Linked DNA regions of Homo sapiens: regions 1, 2 and 4 are each linked to region 3. The links are contacts of gene promoters, found by promoter capture Hi-C in blood cells and fetal thymus (Javierre and others, 2016). All regions are on one chromosome and are shown on one strand. Each heading gives the region's core, a stretch centred on a gene start or on the middle of the fragment in contact. The rest is flanking DNA. Distances are from core to core; before and after follow the strand shown.

Region 1 (3,572 bases), core at 935-3,434, 680 kb before region 3:
CACGAGGTCAGGAGATTGAGACCATCCTGTCTAACGCAGTGAAACCCCGTCTCTACTAAAAATACAAAAAAAAATTAGCCAGGCGTGGTGGTGGCGCCTGTAGTCCCAGCTACTTGGGAGGCTGAGGCAGAAGAATGGGGGGAACCTGGGAGGCGGGGCTTGCAGTGAGCTGAGATCGCACCACTGCACTCCAGCCTGGGTGACAGAGCGAGACTCTGTCTCAAAAAAAAAAAAGTCAATGTTATTATGTGTCTTATTGGTTTATATGACACTTATTTTTTTCTCTCTGGAAACTTTTAGGATCTTCTTTTTATTCCTGATATTACAACAGTTTCAAGATTTGGGGCCTTGGTCTGGGTCTTCGTTGTTGTTTTTGTGCAGGCCATTTAGTAACCTTTTTAATTTGGCAACGTGATACTGTGAAATATGTATTTAGTCTTCAACCCCTTTTTCTGGCATAGAACTCCTAAAATCCTTAGAATCTCCAAAATTGTATCTTTTATATACTAATGATTCATTGGTGGCTGGCAGCCTCTAGGCAGCTTCAGGATGGGGGCTGGTCCCGGGAAGCAAGTTAGGATTAGAGGGCTGGGACGTTTAGCCCCACCCCTTTACCCATCACATCTGGGAAGGGGAGAGGGAACTGAAGGCCCCCTGAAGTTGCAATGGCCAGTGGTTTAATCAGTCATGCTCACATGAAGCCTCCATAAAAACGGGGTTCAGAGAGCTTCCAGGTAGTGGAACATGTGGAGGTTCCTGGAGGGTGGCACACCTGAGGAGGGCATGGAAGCTTTGTACTCCTTCTCCTATACCTCACCTTTTCTTCTGTATTATTTGTGATATCCTTAAAATAAACTGGGAAATGTGTTTCCCTGAGTTCTCTGAGCAGCTTTAGCAAATTAATTGAACTGAAAGAGAGGAGCATGAGAATCTCACGTTGAACCCGGTTGGTCTTAGAAGTTCTGGAGGCCCAGACTTACCACTGGTGTCTAGGGGGTGGGCGGTCTTGGGGACTGAGCACTCAACCTGTGGGATCTGATGCTATCTCCAAATAGTGTCAGAATTAAATTGGAGGATACCCAGCTGGTGTCTGCTGCCGAATTGATTGCTTGCTTGGTGGTGGGAAGAAACCACCCCCCGCCAATATGTAGTCACAGAAGTCTTCTGTGACTTCTGTTGATTGTTGTGGTGATGTGAGGGCAGAGGAAAAATACAGCTTGAGTTTTTCCACACTCTCGGGGAATATGTGTCCTTCTCTTCCAGAATATTTTCTTTCTTTCCTTTTTTAAAAAATAACTTCTTCCTTCTGTTTTTTTGTTAATCTCCTTCTAGAAATCTAGTCAATCATATTTTGTTTCCTAAATTGAATCTCTAATGATCATATATTTTTTCCTATTCTATTTGTGCTTTCAGAGAAATGTCCTCAATTTCATAGACTAACCCTTCTATTGAATTTTTATTTAGTAGAACTTCTATTGAGTTTCAAGGTTCAGTTTTCATTCTCTGCCTGCTCATTTGTCCATGGTGTCCTGCCCCTGTCTTACAGATGCAGTGTTGTATCTCTTCGGGGCTATAATAATTTTACTTGTTTGGTTTAATTGTGTTAACAGCATTGTTTTTTTTTTCCTTCCAGGAGCATTTTTTAATTGTTTTGATCTATTTTTCATACAGAAAACCTATCTCAAATATCTGGTACTCCTTGGCTGTCTGAGAATATTTTAAGAATGAAGTCCTAAAAGCTGATTAAATGCTCTGTGTAGTTAAGGTTTATTGAACATTGGACTTCACTGTATAGGAGGTCAAGCTAATCGTGAACCTGGCCTATTGGGTGACCTCCAAATGCTGAAATCTGGAGGTGTTTTTTTTGGGCCTGGCTGCCAGCATTCTGAGATCAGAGCACGGAAAGAGAGGATAAGGTTCCCAACACTCCATATGTAGACCTTCACTTAATTCTCCCTGCCCCTAAGCCCTGAACGTTATAAGGTTCTGAGGGGCCCCTGGCCTCCTTATCAATAACTCCCTTTTGTAGCATTCAGACAGAAGTTCCTCCACTCAGCACAAGCCAGCTGCCTACTCTGCTGCCACTTGGACAGTTATTTATTTATTCATTCATTTGTTCATTTTTGAGGTTTTATAATTTTATTTGACATCAACAGTTTGTTCTCATCCACAATGTCTGACTGTCAGTTTCTGAAAGTGGTAATGGGTACACAGGTAACCAAAGTATAGAGCTTGCTTGGTGAATCTTCATCCTCATGCTTTCTGGACAGCTGCACATGGACACAGTATGGAACGTTCCTTATTCCTTTGGTCCAGACAGCTTTGTTGAGCCTGGTGTTAGCATATCTGGAGTCCCCATCTCCTTCATGGCAAAGTTCTGGGACTTTTTGAGTGACCAAGGGGCACACTGCTTGACGTCCCCTCCATGGGTGTGCTTGTGGATGCTGATGGCATATTCTGGTGTCACCACCTCATTGGTGGCAGGTGACAGAATAGCCCTTTTATTTTATTTTATCTTACTTTATTTTATTTTATTTTATTTTATTTAGACAGAGTCTCGCTCTGTCGCCCAGGATAGAGTACAGTGGCACAGTCTTGGCTCACTGAAGCCTCTGCCTCCCAGGTTCAAGCAATTCTCCCACCTCAGCCTCTCAAATAGCTGGGACTACAGGCACATGCCACCACACCCAGCTAATTTTTGTATTTTTAGTAGAGACAGGGTTTCACCATCTCTTGGCCAGGCTGGTCTTAAACTCCTGACTTCAGGTGATCCACCTACCTCAGCCTCCCAAAAGTGCTGGGATTACACGCATGAGCCACTGCGCCCAGCCAACACTCTTCTTTACAGGAGCTATGCTGCTGGGGCCAAGTTGGAAAGGACTTTTAAAATTTTGTTCACATCTTTTGTCCACTGAGTTTGGCTCTTTGAGTTTGAGAATTTACAAAAAAAAATGTTCTTTCCTATAATTGTTATATTGTTTGGAGAGAGGGAGAAAATATGTGTATATGGTCAATGCGCTATTACCTCTAATAGAATTGTTATTCTATATTTCACCTATATGTATATTTTTCAGTTTTGATTAAATCTTTTTTCCCCTTATCTTCCCTCATGCCATCTCCTCTGCTTGTGTGCCCTTTGCCCCCAGCAAACTGTGTTAACACCTGTTAACATGTTTCTATTCTCATTTAGTCATACACACACTCTCTCTCTCTCTCTCTCTCTCTCTCTCTCTCTCTATATATATATATATATATATATATATTCAGGGAGATCTTTTTCATGACTTATTTCCATAGAAATTGGGATCATACTATAAAAAGTTATTTGAAACTTATTTTCCTCTCTCATCAACACATTCCAGCCATCTGCAGGTCAACAGATGTCTATGCAACTAATTCTCATTCTCTTTAATATTTGCATAATATTCCATAGTAGATAGCAATCTATTCAACCATTTCTAGTTTGATGGACATTTAGATTTAAACTAGATCTCACCTTAATTCAGCCATTCTCTATTGATGACCATTCAGTACCACAGAAAAAGAGGGAAAGCTGTCCATTTTTTTTAAAG
Region 2 (3,283 bases), core at 50-2,549, 660 kb before region 3:
CATCCGCTCCAGGGAGAAATGAAGACATGGTCCTACGTTGTTCTGTAATTATTTTCTATGTAAATTTTGTTCCTTGTTACAATTATATATGTCTTAGGGGAAAGGACCATTTCACATGTGTCACCTCATGTGATTCTCACCACAGCCCTGTGATTGCTCCTGTTTTATAAATAATGACATAGTTCCAGTTGATGGCCAAAGCCACAGCTAACGAGAGGCAGAGAGAGCTCAGGCTCCCAGGAGCTTCCACTCTCAGACCTTGCCTCCCGGGCTGCCCTGAGTGAAACGCCTGCTTAGCATTTGGCACAGCCAGAAGCAGCAAGCTAGGGTCACAACACAGAGAGGGGCTGTGTAATACTGGCTGCCTCTGTGCTAAGAAAAAAAAAAAATCACTGTGTGTTTGTTTATTTTGGTGCAGGCCCAGTGTTCTTGCTTAGACTTAATACTACCCTTCATGTTAAAATAAAACCAAACAAAAACCCATGGCCTTGTTCTTCTTATTCATACGTAAGAATTTGTGCTTCTGGCTGGGGCAAGAGTGATAGAGGAGGGCACAGTATTTAAAAATTAGTTTCTCAAGATGTTCCCCCTTTGGAAAGCTACTCTTTTAGAAAGAAATGGGAAGCCGGGCGTGGTGGCACACTTCTGTAGTCCCAGCTACTTGGGAGGCTGAGGCAGGAGGATTGTTTGAGCCCAGGAGGTTGAGGCTGCAGTGAACTATGATGGCGCCACTGCACTCCAGCCCAGGTGACAGAGTGAGACCCTGTCTCAAAAACAAAGAAAAAGAAAGAAGGAAGGAAAGAAAAGTGAGAGAGAGCCGAGGGTGATGAGAAAAAATCGTTCTCAGGCTGAGTCCATTAGAGCTGAGCTGGCTGTGCCAACAAAGCATGTCAAGACACTCACCAGCTCCAGGCCACAGCTTCACTGCCTCCCTGAAAAACATGCCAACTGCCTAGAAGGGCCAAGGTGTACCCATAATGTTAACACAAACTTATAAAATAATGGCGAATGTCACAGTGACATTTAAGAATTTTGTAAGGAAACCAGGACAGAAAAGATCTTAAAACAAACCACACAGGAAGCTTGTCACAAGTCTCAAGTTTTTTATTTTCAGAACAGAGTCTGGTTTTATTTTTAAAAAGAGAAGGAAAAAAGTGATAAATGCTAGTGAGGTGCCACTTCCCTCCTTCTTCCAGGCTCTAACCGCCAGCTAGCTCTCTTTCACAAAACCCACGGATGCAGAATCAGGACATGTTAAAATGGAACAGTCTTTAGAGAGGGTCTAGTCTTTTTAAAATAAGTAAGGATTTGGGGACTAACAGAGAGGAAGCCCCTGACTTGCTGAATTGTTAGGAGCAGGCGGTTCTCGAGATTCTGAGCCCAGGATCCTTTTCTGTGAACCATGCACGTGCTGGCACTGGCCTCAGGAGACAGTGCCCTGCCTTGGCTGTCAGGTCCACGGAGAAATCTCAGGTTTGCCCCTTCACTAGGGATGCCCTAGAAAGCAAGGGCAAAGGAAGCTTTAGGGGTCATCGTGACTGGGGCAGGGGAAGTGAGTGCAAGGACTCAAGAAAAACACAGCAGAGGAAGGGACTGACCCTCTGAGCACACAGTGGTTGACCCACATGTGTAAAAGAGGGTGACTGGGGCTGAACTGGGGGCCTGATATCTGCCAGAATTGGCCAAGTTGCCATCAGCTTCTTGACATATCCAGGGAAGTGGCAGCTCATTGGAACTTATCACAGCCTCCCACCAAAAACCTAACAAACAGTACAGAGATTTTACAGTCAGGGAGGCCCAGCAGGAGATGGCCATCCAAACAATAGAAGGGGGGCAGATCAGGGGGCCAGCCAGCGGCTGGCCATGGCTCAGACACAATGTCCTTTCACAGTCACTGAGATTAGGTAGCAGAGAAACACAGCAAAGCTGGAGAGAGGACATGGGAACAGCGAGCAGCTGTTGGTACCCACCCAGGGCCCAGGCCCCAGAACCTTGAGTACAATCAAAGGGAGAGGAGAGGAGTCAGTGGGGGCAGGGGAAGAAGGCAGAAAAAAATACCAATTAAGTGTGAAATCCAGCCAGCTATTGGGCCACATAGGGTGAGGGACTGGAAGCACAGATTGTGCATGGAGTGTAAACATTTTCCCCCGCTGTTCCCTGCTCTGAGAGCATGAGGAGGCTCAAGAGAACTCTGGTCAAGCCTTCTGCCCCTCTTATGTCTGTCTACAAGGGTGTCTTCTGCTCCAAGCCCCCAAAACAGTTGTAAGAGGGGGCTTCAAGTGGGAGGCGGGGGCTTGGCCTGGGTGCTGAGTTAACGGCCAGTGACTTGGCACTTCTGACCCTCCCTGTGCACTCTGCAGCTGTGCCAGGCCCTGCCCCACACCCAGCCCAGGCACCCAAGCCCTCCCTCCGGCCTTCTCTGCTGGGGCTTCACACACCCAGTACAGAGCAGGGAATGTTCTGCAAGTGCAGCCTGGCTGGCTTCTCTCCCAGCCACCTTTACAGGGAGCATCAGGACCAGGGCTTTCAAGAGCCACAAACTCAAAAGAATGTGAGAGCTGAAATTACCTTCAACCTTAGAGATCACTCATCTAACTTCTACTTTTTTAATGTGAGAAAACAGGCCCAGGAAATAAAAATATGTCACTCAAAGCCAATGAGTGACAGAATCAGAACTAGAATCCACATCTTCTGGTAACTCGTCTAGAGTTTGTTACACTACATAAAACTTCCCAAACGTAAGAAGGGAGAAGGGGAAACAAAAATTCTTCAAGTTTCACCCCCACCACATCCTGTTGAGGGTGGAGGGAAGTGAGTATTTCCTGGCCTTGTTAGCTGCTGTCCTCCTGCACCCTTAAAATATGTAAAAATACTTATCCTGCCTCAAAGACTGCAAGAGTGACATTCCACACCGACTGTAAGTGCACAGTCCCCGGATGTCTCTTGTCATCACCCTCAATGAGAGGAAGAGGGAAAGTTCTGCAGCCTGCCTTGGCCCTAGTGAGACTCTTAACCAGACCAGAGGTGGGAGGTCACCACCTCACTTTCTGATCTACACTTCCTAGAGGAAGGACAGGTGGGGAATGGGGCTTCCTACTCCCTTGGGCCCATGGGAGGCCCAACTTCACATCCATCCAGGAAACCCACCAAAGCTATTACTCTAAGCCCAGATCCGACCCAGTCGGCACCAAACCACAGGAAGGATAAGAGTTCTAGGTGCAGAGGGAGGAACAGAGAGAGGCCAAGCCAATGGCTGATACTCCGCAGACCCTGTAATAACACT
Region 3 (3,485 bases), core at 601-3,100:
GTGTCAAATGTCCATCCGCCTCCATCACCCTCATCCATCCTTGTCAGTCCAGGGGCCTGGGCACTGCTGGGGCTCCTGGGCAGACAGTTCCCCCTTGCAAATGAGTGGGACCCTCAGCTCCTTCGATCAGCATCCTCACGTCAGCCGAGCCTGTGAGCACCCCTAAGCAAGGCCTCTGAGCTGGGCATGCGACACCCCTTCCCACCCAGGCACCCTCCCCCTAGAATCCCCCATACCACCCTGGGGCCATGCCCCGCTTCCCTCTCTGGCAAGCTCCTGCACAACCTTGAGACCACCTGACAGCCACCGTCTATCCTGCCCAACCTCCTCAGAAGCACTAACAGCACCTCGCCCCAGCCACGGCAGGTCTCTGCACCCCTCGTCTCAGTCACCACTCTCACATCTCATGAACAGAGACACGAGCTGCTTCCTCATGCTCCCTGTGCCCGTCCTGGGAGATCCCTGCCTTTAAACCCCAGCCACGAACTGCTGACCCCGCATTTCCTCTTCCCTCCCTGGGCAAGAGGGGCAGAAGGGGCAGGGACGCACACCCTGGGCCGCAGGCAGAGGCTTGGCCAGGGTCGTCCTCCCGGCAGTGCCTCCCTGGAGCTCTGTCTACCTCAACTCCTGATGCCAGAGGATCCCTCTGCGCTCCCCACACCCTTAAGACCCCAGCTCAGGGAATCTGGTCTCGGTCATCACTCCCAGGGGACTGCAGGGCCCCAGGACGGCACACATTCAGGCCCAGGAGAGCTCCCCCCATCTCAAAGCCTCCTGTGGGTGGAGATGGAATGTGGAAAAACCGCATCCTCTGCAGCTCCCCCACAGTGAGAGCGAGGACTGAGGGTGTGGATAAGGCTCCAGGAAGGGGGTGCAAGCCTGAGAAGGTGGAAGAGCTCTGGGTGGGTCCATCTGCTCCTCACCTGCCCCAACCCTGCCTGCAGGTGAAGGCCGGTCCAGCCGCAGAAGGCCCAGCCCCCAGCCCACTTACAGAATCCGCACTGTGCTCCTCCAGCCGGCCCGGCCCCTCGCTGCCCACCGAGCCATCATGACCCCAGCACCGCTGCACATTCGTATTTGTTGAATGAATGAATGAACCCTTGCCAGCCCAGCCACTTGGTGGCTGAGGGCTTCAGAGCTCTCCCAGGGTCCCCTGGGGTCATTCAGCCACTCAACAGTTTCCCAGCAGCAGCAGCGAGGATCCGCACATCATTGCCAGTGCTCTAAGGAGCGGGCGAGCCCCAGTAAGCGGCCGCTCTGACCGCGCTTTGTCAGCCCTGAGCTCCGCTCGGGAGGAGCCGGCAGGTGTCTGCGGTGCTGGAAAGACCACGGTGTGGGCGGGGATTCCGATCCGCCGGCAAGGGTGGCCTGCACCCGGCCAGGCCCGCGGGTTTTCTCCTCTCCGGGGCTGGCCTCGGCCCCTCCCCCTCCCCGCGCCCCGCACCCCTCCCCTGAATCCCCAGGCCACGTGGAGAGGACACAACAAAGCCTTCCCCGCCTCCGAGGCGGACCCGACCCTCAGCACCGACCTGCCGGCCGCGCCGAGGAGGGCGCCCGGGCGGAGGGGAGGCGGGAGAGACCCGGCCCTCAGGTCGCTGCTGAGGCCTGGGGCTCTGACCCCCCGCCTCCCCTCCTCTGGCTCCCACCGCGGTCGGGCCCAGGGCGGGCGGCGGGCCCTGAGCTCCACGCCGGGGCAGGCGGCAGGCAGGGGTCACGGGCTGGGGCTCGGCGCGTACCCCGGGAGGGGCGCGGGTGCACTCACCACCCTCCAGCCGCGGGGGCGCGGGCGCGTCCGGGCCGAGGCAGCGTCTCCCAGGCGCGCGGACACGGTCGACTACCCGCTTCCTCCTTATGGCGCCCCGCGCGCTTCCTCCTTCGGCCCCCCACGCCCGGGCCCGCCCCGGCCCGCCCCGGCCCGCCCCCGGCGGCTTGCGGGGACCCGGGGAGCCCGCGCCGGCGCGGGGCTGTGGAGCGGGGCGGGGAGCCGGCAGCGCAGTGAGAACCAGGCTTTCCACCCTTACCCCTTACGCGACTGTTTCAGACAGTGTCGTCCAACTTTAAGTTGGCCACTTACTCCAGCGCCGCTGGGATAATTCCTAATGATTCTCTGGGAAACATTCAGAATCCCCAGGCTGTTTCTGGAACAGTCTGGGGTGGTCATTCTAGGTCCTCACGGAACCAGGGGTTTGGAAAGTGGGTGAAGCCATGTGGGTTGCAGAGAATCTGGCCCAGCCCCTCACCAGTCCCTGTGCTTGTTGTTTATTCTTTAATTATTTGGATATCAACTCTGATTTAAAACATCAGTTTAACATATAGATAATGCTGGGACTACAGGCGCACACCACACCCAACTAATTTCTTTTTCAGTTTTTAGTGGAGGTGGTGGGGGGGGGGTCTCCACCTCTGGAGGTCTCAGGCTGGTCTCGAACTCCTGGGCTCCAGCGATGCTTCCCACCTCGGCCTCCCAAGGTGCTGGAATGACAGGCCAGTCCATGCATCCCCGGATGCAGCTCTCACCGGCAGTGCTGCTGCAGAGCCCTTTGTGGGCGTCTTCACTTCTCTTGAGTGTGATACCTAGGAGTGGAAATGCGAATCATAGGGCTGGACGAGCTTCATGGTATTAAAAACTGCCTGCTTTCCAAGGTGATGCACACCGTTCGGCACTTCCACCAGCCCTGTTGGAGCGTCCAGTTGCTCTGCGCCCTCGCGTGGGCTCACTCCCTGAGCCCACTGTGGCTCCTCCAGACGCCCTCACTTCTACCCGGGCTCCCTAGACTCTTGCCTCTTTTATAAAAGGTCAGAGGATGTCACTCACGCTTTAACATCCTCTGAATAAAAGCCAAGTTCCTTTCAGTGGCCCGCAGAGTCCCACGCGACCTGCCCTGCTCTAAGCAAATCCTACCCTGTCCCTGTTCCTCCTCGGCAGCCCCATGGCCTCTGGCTTTCACCAGGCCTCACTTCATTTTCCTCCACAGCCAGCATCGCAGCATGACATACCACGGAGTCGTTTGTGTGTGTGTTGCCTACCTCCCCTCTCGGAATGTAGCCTCCACGAGGACAGGGGCTTGTTTCCTGCATGCTCTTCACTCGGGCTGGGCACTCTGGGGGGCTAACAAATGGAAGATCCTGTGAGCAGGGAAACCGTCAGATGGCATTAGGGGCCGGTGCCCTGCAGAAGACGAAAGGGAAACTTCATGGACTGAGGCCAGGTCATCTGCAGGGTGGTGTTCAAATTCATGGTACAATGTCAGCAGGCGCCCAGATGGGAAAAGAGAGGGACGTGCACCTGGGCACAAGAAGCTGCAGGGGCCCCTCCCAGGGCAGGCGAGAGCTTGGACAGTGGGGCACAGTGGGCAAGAGGCCAGTGGGGTGGCCTGAAGGCAGGAGGCTCCAGCAGCCTGGATGAGCAGTTGGATTTTATCCTCAGCACTGTGGGGGCCACTGGCCCTGTCATGCAGGGCAGGACCTGTACCAATTGGCCCCCA
Region 4 (3,702 bases), core at 880-3,379, 530 kb before region 3:
TTAGATGTAAGTACCTCCTGCAAAATTTCAGAAAGATCTGTCTTGTCCTTTGTCAACAGAAAAAATCACTCCTTCATGCAAGCATTTATTGAGTGCCTCTCTGTGCCAAGTTGGCTCACTGCAATGCAGATATTATCTGATCTAATCAAGGGGTATTTATTGAGTGGCGTTGGAGGTTAAAGGAGTATCAAACAAACTTGATCCCAGTCCTGAAGGAGCTTGTAATTCTTGCTGGAAAGGCAAGACCAACTCATAGGAAACAACAGGAACAGCAGCAGGTGATATACAACTGAGTTCTAAATTGTGTGGTGCAGACTTCAATTGCTGCTGGAATTGGGAATGAGGAAGATCAATGAGGGAGCGGGTCAGCACCAGCTAAATCACTTAGACTGAGGCATTCATCAGCCTGAGCCATTGTTCACGCTGCAGACTTTCTGTTCAAAATGGTAAAAGCCAGTCCGAGGCTGGGCACGGTGGCTCACGCCTGTAATCCCAACATTTTGGGAGGCCGAGGCGGGCGGATCACATGAGGTTGGGAGTTCGAGACCAGCCTGACCAACATGGAGAAACCCTGTCTCTACTAAAAATACAAAATTAGCCGGGCGTGGTGACGCGTGCCTGTAATCCCAGCTACTCAGGAAGGCTGAGGAAGGAAAATCTCTTGAACCCAGGAGGCAGAGGTTGCAATGAGCTGAGATCACGCCATTGCACTCTAGCATGGTCAACAAGAGCTAAACTCCGTCTCAAAAAAAAAAAAAAAAAAAAGCCAGTCCAAAAGCCTCAGTCACAGGGATGACTCAGGACCTTGAGTTTCATTTCATGTTTCTAATGTCATGAGACAACCGTGGGCCTCGCCCTGCTCAGCAGAGTCCTACCCCCCACTTTCTCCACACAGCTTCCCCTACTCAGGGTACATGAAAAAGGGGTTCCCCACCACAACTCTATGGCCACACCCCAGGGGGCAAGTTCAACCAACAGGCCAGGCGAATGAGCCCCATCTGTGCCCCATTCCCACCTGATCGGACCCCACAGCCCTTTGGGAGCACTCAGATACTGGTGAGAATGCCCCTGTTTGCTTGGGGGGCCCGTGGCTACTTATTGACGGCACAGGGCATCTGTTGAGAAGATGCAGGCAGGGGAGGGAAGGAGAGAAAGACAAGAGGAGCCTATGCAATTGGCGAGAGACACAGAGGACAGAGAACATGGGGAACTGAGGACTAGAACGGATTTCTGGCCTGACCCGTTCTGGGGGACTCCTTTTAGACCAGGGGTCTGTGTTGGCCCGTGAGTGCAGCTGGGCTCTCTCCACCTCTTTTCAGCCTCCTCTGCCACTCTGAAAGGCCCCAGGTTTTATTCCCGGTTCACATTGCCGCACCCATAACCCAGGGAATGTGGCAGCCCCTGCTGGGGTTTCACAGGCGTGCAGAGGGTGCCTCTGGGTAGGGCTTCATTCCTCTATGGGCAGGAGTCCCTGGGCACTGACCACGCCCTAGTGACAGCCAGAGTGCCTTCATTCCAAGTGCTATATTAGCAGTATCTTAAAAACCTGTCTGAGCCGGGCGCGGTGGCTCACACCTGTAATCCCAGCACTTTGGGAGGCTGAGGTGGGCGGATCACGAGGTCAGGAGATCGAGACCATCCTGGCTAACACGGTGAAACCCCATCTCTACTAAAAGTGCAAAAAATTAGCTGGGCGTGGTGGCAGGCGCCTGTAGTCCCAGCTACTTGGGAGGCTGAGGCAGGAGAATGGCGTGAACCCGGGAGGCGGAGCTTGCAGTGAGCCGAGATCGCGCCACTTCACTCCAGCCTGGGCAACAGAGCAAGACTCCGTCTCAACAAAAAAAAAAACCTGTCTGAAACAAGTACGTGAGAATTCACTTCTTCTTCTTTTTTTTTTTTTTGAGATGGAGTTTCGCTCTTGTTGCCCAGGCTGGAGTGCAATGGCACGATCTCAGCTCAACACAACCTCTGACACCCAGGTTCAAGTGATTCTCCTGCCTCAGCCTCCTGACTAGCTGGGATTATAGGTATGCATCACCATGCTGGGCTAATTTTGTACTTTTAGTAGAGACGGGGTTTCTCCATGTTAGTCAGGCTGTTCTTGAACTCCCACCTTCAGATGATCCACCCGCCTTGGCCTCCCAAAGTGCTGGGATTACAGGCGTGGCTACCTCGCCCAGCCGAGAATTCACTTTTGCTGAGAAAGTAATGGAGGTCCCACGGCCATTTTAGGAGCAACATTTGTTGGGGTGGAGTGGAGATCGGTAGTGCAAAATTGACCCTCCTAGATTACCCAAGAAAAATGAGCCCAAATCTGAACTTCTGAAGACACAACTTGAATTCACCACCTTTTTAAAATCTTTTTTTTTTTTGAGACAGAGTCTAGCTCTGTCGCCCAGACTGGAGTGCAGTGGCGCGACCTCGGCTCACTGCAAGCTCCACCTCATTTAGTTCAGGTACTAAACGGGTCACTGGGCTTAGTGGCAAGAGTTCCTAATGAGAAATACTACTTGAGGACTTACATTGTGCCAGATGCTTTACATGTGTGGCATCATTTAATCTTCCAGATATTATAACCATTGTCATTGTAGAGATGAGAAAACTGAGTCCTGAAAAGCTGACTAGTCTGGGGACATCACTTGTTCAAGGTCACATGGCTAGTCGTTGAGGAAAGCAGAATTGAACTCAGGTGACTCCATGGCCCATGTATGAACCACTGGGCCACACTCCCTCACTTATAAGCTGATGTTGTCAGTTCTCACTATCAGCAGGGTTGGTGCCTCTACAAAACCACAATCAGGAAGGGAGAAAGGCCTTAGGAATAATATTCTAGGCCTTCGACTACAAACTACAGCCTGCAGGACAAATTTTTTTCAACTTTATTGAGGCATTTTTTTTTTTTTTTGAGATGGAGTCTCGCTCTGTCGCCCAGGCTGGAGTGCAGTGGCGCGATCTTGGCTCACTGCAACCTCCGCCTCCCAGGTTCAAGCAATTCTCCTGCCTCAGCCTCCCGAGTAGCTGGGACTACAGGCACGCACCACCACACCCGGCTAATTTTTGTATTTTTAGTAGAGATGGGGTTTCACCATTTTGGTCAGGCTGGTCTCGAACTCCTGACCTTGTGATCCGCCTGCCTCGGCCTCCCAAAGTGCTGGGATTATAGGCATGAGCCACCGCGCCTGGCTGAGGCATATTTTATATATATAATTCATCCCTTTCAAGTGTACAATTCAATAATTTTAGTCAATTTACCAAACTGCACAGCCATTACCTTAATACATTTTAGAACATTACCAGTAAGACCATACTTTCAGGGATATCACTTCTAGAGTTTATTATAGAACACTGTCAGTATCCCAAAAGGATCCCTCATGCACACCTACCTGGAGGTCAAAATAGAACCTTCAGATGTTGTGCTTGGTCCACCATATTTAGAATATTCTTTTGATGGCTGGGAGGAGTGGCTCAAATCTGTAATCCCAGCACTTTGGGAGGCCGAAGCAGGCGGATCACATGAGGTCGGGAGTTCGAGACCAGCCTGACCAACGTGGTGAAACCCCATCTCTACTAAAAATACAAAAATTAGCCAGGTGTGGTGGCACATGTCTGTAATCCCAGCTACTCTGGAGGCTGAGGCAGGAGAATCACTTGAACCCGGGAGGCTGAGATTACAGTGAGCCGAGATCACGCCACTGCACTCCA

Evidence for each region. Contacts are between HindIII fragments. The CHiCAGO score rates a contact against its expected background, and 5 or more counts as called.
Region 1: a contact is called between a fragment that was not itself captured here and the fragment with the promoter of BID in region 3, in 2 of 17 cell types (neutrophils and monocytes). The highest score is 6.6, in neutrophils.
Region 2: a contact is called between a fragment that was not itself captured here and the fragment with the promoter of BID in region 3, in 1 of 17 cell types (neutrophils). The highest score is 5.4, in neutrophils.
Region 4: a fragment that was not itself captured here is called in contact with the fragment with the promoter of BID in region 3 in 1 of 17 cell types (monocytes); the score reaches 5.6 in monocytes.

Annotation. Positions count from the first base shown.
Region 1 is chr22:17,091,456-17,095,027 of GRCh38, forward strand. The region is part of intron 1 of IL17RA (interleukin 17 receptor A); the gene reads left to right. It also overlaps the pseudogene RPL31P62. Among named protein-coding and RNA genes, the nearest start is that of IL17RA, 8.2 kb to the left of the region's middle. The HindIII fragment of the contact is 2,792 bases long and covers 789-3,572 here.
Region 2 is chr22:17,115,211-17,118,493 of GRCh38, forward strand. It overlaps IL17RA (interleukin 17 receptor A), which reads left to right. Exons shown (of 13, transcript NM_014339.7): 13 at 1-483. It overlaps TMEM121B (transmembrane protein 121B), which reads right to left. Exons shown (of 1, transcript NM_031890.4): 1 at 1,087-3,283. Among named protein-coding and RNA genes, the nearest start is that of TMEM121B, 4.5 kb to the right of the region's middle. The HindIII fragment of the contact is 438 bases long and covers 1,081-1,518 here.
Region 3 is chr22:17,772,619-17,776,103 of GRCh38, forward strand. BID (BH3 interacting domain death agonist) reads right to left here and starts at 1,851. Exons shown (of 6, transcript NM_001196.4): 1 at 1,763-1,851. RefSeq lists silencers at 1,360-1,689, 1,720-1,789, 1,810-1,859, 1,880-1,979. The HindIII fragment of the contact is 11,451 bases long and covers 1-3,485 here.
Region 4 is chr22:17,242,841-17,246,542 of GRCh38, forward strand. No RefSeq gene overlaps it. Among named protein-coding and RNA genes, the nearest start is that of CECR3, 22 kb to the right of the region's middle. RefSeq lists enhancers at 649-708, 729-988. The HindIII fragment of the contact is 5,307 bases long and covers 1-3,702 here.